Regions from separate parts of the Homo sapiens genome. Here region 1 is linked to region 2. The links are contacts of gene promoters, found by promoter capture Hi-C in blood cells and fetal thymus (Javierre and others, 2016). All regions are on one chromosome and are shown on one strand. Each heading gives the region's core, a stretch centred on a gene start or on the middle of the fragment in contact. The rest is flanking DNA. Distances are from core to core; before and after follow the strand shown.

The links. Contacts are between HindIII fragments. The CHiCAGO score rates a contact against its expected background, and 5 or more counts as called.
Region 1: a contact is called between a fragment that was not itself captured here and the fragment with the promoter of USP46 in region 2, in 2 of 17 cell types (total CD8 T cells and naive CD8 T cells). The highest score is 6.4, in total CD8 T cells.

Annotation. Positions count from the first base shown.
Region 1 is chr4:51,838,502-51,841,201 of GRCh38, reverse strand. It overlaps a transcript of DCUN1D4 not described here. Among named protein-coding and RNA genes, the nearest start is that of DCUN1D4, 3.3 kb to the left of the region's middle. The HindIII fragment of the contact is 1,059 bases long and covers 781-1,839 here.
Region 2 is chr4:52,657,993-52,660,692 of GRCh38, reverse strand. USP46 (ubiquitin specific peptidase 46) reads left to right here and starts at 1,392. Exons shown (of 9, transcript NM_022832.4): 1 at 1,392-1,578. The coding sequence starts at 1,543. It overlaps USP46-DT (USP46 divergent transcript), which reads right to left and starts at 1,287. Exons shown (of 2, transcript NR_125363.1): 1 at 1,017-1,287. RefSeq lists silencers at 979-1,408, 1,419-1,938. The HindIII fragment of the contact is 3,165 bases long and covers 1-2,687 here.

The DNA of each region.
Region 1 (2,700 bases), core at 61-2,560, 820 kb after region 2:
ATTTTGCACAGAAAAGGGCTTCCTTCGTGACACCTCTAAATTACAATAAGCCCACAATTAATTATAGCTAGTCATTTGCTCTATTAATTTATTTGCAGCATACTTTATAATAATGTGTATAAGAGTTAAGCTAGATGAAGGATGGGTCGGCTGCTTTGCCCCAGCTCCCAACACTGGCCTGGCATATGCATGGTGTCCATAAAAATTTATAGAATGTACAACCTCTGTTATTTCTCAACATTGCTTTCAGTTGAGTCAGTATGATTATTTTCAAGTAGAAAACAGACTTAGAGGTAATTTACCCAGATCTTTATAAAGAGTCAGCTATAGCCTAAGGATTGAGAGGCAAAGCTCATTCCTAGTCGGCTGACCCTCACTGCCCCCACGTTTTACAAAGTATAATAAAATGACTACATAATGCTCTGCAAATATTACCTGGTCATTTAAATAATCCACACCATATAAACCTCTGATATCAGGAAACTTGTTATAGTTATCTTTTTACTTGCCTAGCACCTAGTACAATGCTTTCAAATATTGTGGTAGGCACTGGTTAACCATACCCCTTAAAATGAATGTTTACCGTACATGAAATTTTAGATCTGGATAGGAACCTTGGTGATTATCAAATCCAACATCTTCATTTTAAAAATAAGAGACTTGACATCCAAAGGAGTTAAATGTTTAATCTGAGTCACTTGGCTAGTTGATAACAAAACAGGGCTTAAATTCAGGTTTCTCAACTCTATCCCCTGTACCACACTGTCTAATATCAAAGCTTCAAATTCCAAAGATAGGTAAACTACTCTCCCTTCCCATCTGAAAGTTACTATGCCAATCTAATACAAGTCTGCTTCATGGTTGAAATGTTGCCTTCTTTTTTATGTATTTCATTCAGGATTTTTTTCAATATGTAAATCAATACTTCACTTTTTTTTTTCTCATTTGTAGTATTCCCAAAGAACATGATCCCCATGGAGAGGTTTACTGAGATAATAATGTTATACTTCTGTACATTTATATTTGAATCCCTGGAGAAAAAAATTAATAATTGAATATCTTGGGACTGTGATGGGTAGAGATATTTGGAGATGCAGTCTTTATGCCATTTCATTTCACCCAGTTACTGCTTTAAGGTAATATTGAAGCAAGTTACTCCATGTTAATGATACCTAATTTAATTGGAATTTTTCTATTTTATTAGTCATACAATATTAATTTTAATCAGATATATTTTGAAATGCCCTAAGCCTAGATTAGAATGTGATATGGAGAAGTCTAGTAAGAGAAAAAAAACAGCAGAGCTCTTCAATCAAATGTTACGCTTTCCCCTAAATTCTGCTAAGCCCACTGTAGCATGCTTTTCCTGCATGTGTTGGGATTGGGAGTAGGAGGAAGAATAGCATAGTTCTTGAGACTGAAAATAAGTTGGGCCTGCACAGACAGATAAATGTGTCCCTGGTAAGATTTAAAGAGAATAAGAAAGAACACAGGACAGAGAGGAATTAATTTGGCCTTAGATTACAGTGAGAGAGTTGGCAGAACTCCTTTAGTAATAAAATGTCAGGCTAGGTGGGTTTCTAGTATTTGGAAATGAAAATAAACCCCCTCCGAAAGGAGAATTTATCCATAGAGGGCAGGATAGTTTTCTTTCTCCAAATATGACCAACTGAATTTGCTGTCCCAAGTGATAACAACTTCTTTCTTAATGCTTCCTATGTGACGGGCACTACTCTAATAGTACTGTACTGGTAAACTAATCTACTTAACTTCACAACAACACAGTGGAGTACTAATAACTAATAGTATCCCCAATCTACAGGTAAGTTAACTGAAGCTTCAAGAGCTTCGGTAACTTGCCACCCAGCTAATAAGTAAACGTGCCCCTAAGTAGCCAGACTCCATGTTTTTAATATTCCTGTGTTGGGCTTTAGTTTCTTTCTTTCTTTCTTCCTTTCCTTCTTTTCTTTCTTTCTTTCTTTCCTTCCCTCCTTCCTTCCTTCCTTCCTTCCTTCTCCTTTCTTCCTTCCTTCCTTCTCCTTCCTTCCTTCCTTCCTTCCCTCCCTCATTCCCTCCTTCTCTCCTTCCCTTCTTCCTTCCTTTTCTCTCTCTCTCTCTGTCTCTTTTGAGACGGAGTCTCACTCTGTCGCCCAGGCTGGAGTGCAGTGGTGGGATCTCCATTCACGGCAACCTCTGCCTCCTGGGTTCAAGTGATTCTCCTGCCTCAGCCTCTCAAGTAGCTGGGATTACAGGCACACGCCACCACACCCGACTAATTGTTGTGTTTTTAGTAGAGACGGGGTTTTGCCATGTTGGCCAGGATGGTCTCAAACTCCTGACCTCAGGTGATCTGCCCGCCTCAGTTCCCAAAGTGCTGAGATTACAGGCATGAGCCACCGCACCTGGCCAGTTCCTTCTCTTTTTAATCAGGTTAATATATGCCCCTATATACCTCAGAGATTATTTATAAGGATACAATAATATGGTTGTTAACATGCTCTCAAAAGATAGTGAAATCAGGCTGGGCATGGTGGCTCATGCCTGAAACCCCAGCACTTTCGGAGGCTGAGGTGGGTGGATCACTTGAGCCCAAGAGTTTGATACCAGTCTGGGCCAACACAGGGAGACCCTATCTCTACAAAAAAATGCAAAATTATCTGGGTGTGGTGGCAGCTGCCTGTAATCCTAGCTACTCAGGTG
Region 2 (2,700 bases), core at 143-2,642:
AACCTGTCTCTTAAAAAACAGAGAGAGAGAGAAGAAAATCAGTCATGACTTACAATGGAAGAAATTATCATCAGGATGTATTTGGAAATAATATTTAGGTTGAAAGACTTAAGCAGGAATATTATTTCTCATGTCCACTGGAAAACACAGTGACATGACTCCCAAAACCTTCAGTCAACAAGTCTGTCTTACTGTTTCCTCCCCAGATTCTAGGGATATTAGCAATCAACGGCTCTCAAATCTTTACTCTTGGTTAGATAAAAGCTATCTTCAACTAATTTTTCTTCTGATTCAATTTGTCATTAAATACACTGATCTAAGAATTTATCACGCATCTCACTTGTACAATTTCTCCTTTGAAAGCATCGAATTGCAACCTTGTATGTGTAACTGTTCCACACATTCAGAAACGGGCCCCTTCAATTCGCGTGGACCTATCTGCTAAGTGGTGCACAGACTCGCGCTCTGAGCCCGCAGCCACGACCTTTAATGCGGGAAATGTGCATGATCCCATACAGCGCCCATCTCAACAACTAGAGGCTGGGTGCACCCGAGAGGGGTATGCCTGCCTTGAAGATATGGAAAAGTTTTGTTTTCGTTCTTTCCACTCCTTGGACAGTCCCTAGTGCTTGCGCGGAACCGGGACGTCTCCTTTGGACCCGCTAATGTCACAAGCCGCCCGAGCGCGCCGCTGCTGGCCTCCGCCCAGACCCGGATTCCTCCCCCTTCCCGGCGCCCTTTCTCGGGCGCCCGGCCCGCAGCTGGCGAGGGCTCTCTGACCGCTCCGGTGTCCTCGCCCCATTTTACTTCTTGGGTCCCCGCCGGTGCCATCTGGTTGGAACCCTCGGGAGGAACTAAAAGTTGGACGTCGCCACCCCTACCCCTCGCCAAAAAATAAACACCGGGGGCTGCCGAGGCCCGCCAGGAGGAAGGCGACGAGGAAAAAGCGAGGACGGAAGGCGGCCCCGGGTTCGCCCCGGCCTGGGCCGCCCGCTTCCCCACCCCGCGCACCGTACCGTCCCCGGCTCCCTGGCTCCCCGACGGCGAGGAGGGCCGCCGCTTCCGCGTCGGGGTCGGCCGGGGGACCTGCGAGGTGCGGCTGCCGCAGCGGCGCGCCCCGGAGCCTGGCCCGGCATTCCAGTCCGAATAGAAAGAGGCAGGGAATCAAATGGAAAAGCAGGAGGCCAGGCCTGGGCGGGCGAGCTGGGAAGGAGGCGGCGCGGCGGGGCCCGGGAACCCAGCCTGGAGCGCTCTGAGCGGCCGGCTCGGACTCACGCGGCGCGCCCGGGCCGCCCCTCCTCCCCGCGCCGCCGGCCGCGGCCCAGGCTCCCTCGCTCCGCCACTCCCCGCCCCTCCGCGCTCCCTCCCCGCCCTCCCCGCGCCGCCGCCTCCTCCTCCCGGCCTCCCTCTCCCAGCCAAACTGAAAGCCGGACCCCAGGCCGCCGCGCTGCCGCCCGGCCTCCCCGCCAGCGCGCCACCATGGGCAGTCCCGGTTTCCCCTTGTAAAGATGGCGGTGAGGGATCGCTGCAACCTTTAGACTAATGACTGTCCGAAACATCGCCTCCATCTGTAATATGGTGAGTGGCCGAGCCGCCTCGGGGTCGCGCCCGACTCGCGGCGAGGCAAAGAAAGGGAAGCCCGAGCTGCACACACGCCCGGTGGCTGGGGCGGCGGGGGCGGCGGGGTCCGCGCCGCCAGAAGTTCCCGGCCCCCGAGCTGGGCGCGCGGCCGCAGCCACCTCAGCGGCCGGGGAGGGTCCCCGAGCCCCCGGCGCCCGTCTCAGCCCCGGGACCTCGGAACCCGCCCGGCGATCCCGGGGCCGCGCTGCTGCGCCCCCCGCCCTCGGGTTGCGGTGGAAGCGGCTTGAGGGAAGGGAAGCGACCGAACCTGAACGTCCCCGGGGAGGGGGTGGGGGATAAGCTGGAGGTGGGGGGCACCCATCCTCTTCTTGCGGTCAAGACAGCCTTATTGGACGTCCAGACTGCCCTCATCTCATTTTGAGTTCAGTCCTTCCGAGGTGTTTAAAATTCACTTTGCAATAGCAATTGTGTATCTGGAGAAATCGGAAATGTAATAAAGCTGTAAAAAAAGTGCAAAATTGTGGCTGGAGAAGTGAACTTCAACCTGGTTTGAAAAAGCACCGTAATTTGCTCCGCATGCCTCAGTTTCCCCATCTGTGAAAAAGGGACAAGGCTCTGTGGCGGTAATATTTGCAGGCCCTAAGGGTGGGGCGGGCTGTGGGCTTGGAGGAGGTCTCCAGGGTTATCCTGCCTGATCCGCTGTAGACCTAGGGGAGGCTGGCGGGCATGGATACAGCCAGGGACATCACTGGGTTCTGATGCAGTCCGAGCCCATGATGCGGTGGTCACTTTAATTTGGGTTTCCCCCATTGCTTTCCCTTTTTCTGTAGGAAGAACCTCCAGCCCTTGGGTCCCCAGGCTGGACCCTGCTGGCGCCTCCACTTGTCAGAGCCTTTGGGGAGCTCAGATTGGAGTAAGGCATTGCTGTCCCTTGCAGGGTGAGATGATGTGTGTTTTGCCTACATTCTTTAGACTGCACCCCGCCTCCCCTCTAGCCCCCTCCCAAGCGGGTCCCCGGAGGCAACACGTGCTCTTACAGTGCCAGTTTGAGGAAAACCTCCCTTGAAGCTAGTAATACTGGCCCCTAAAGGGAATCCAAGGAAGCTTGATGGAGAAGCC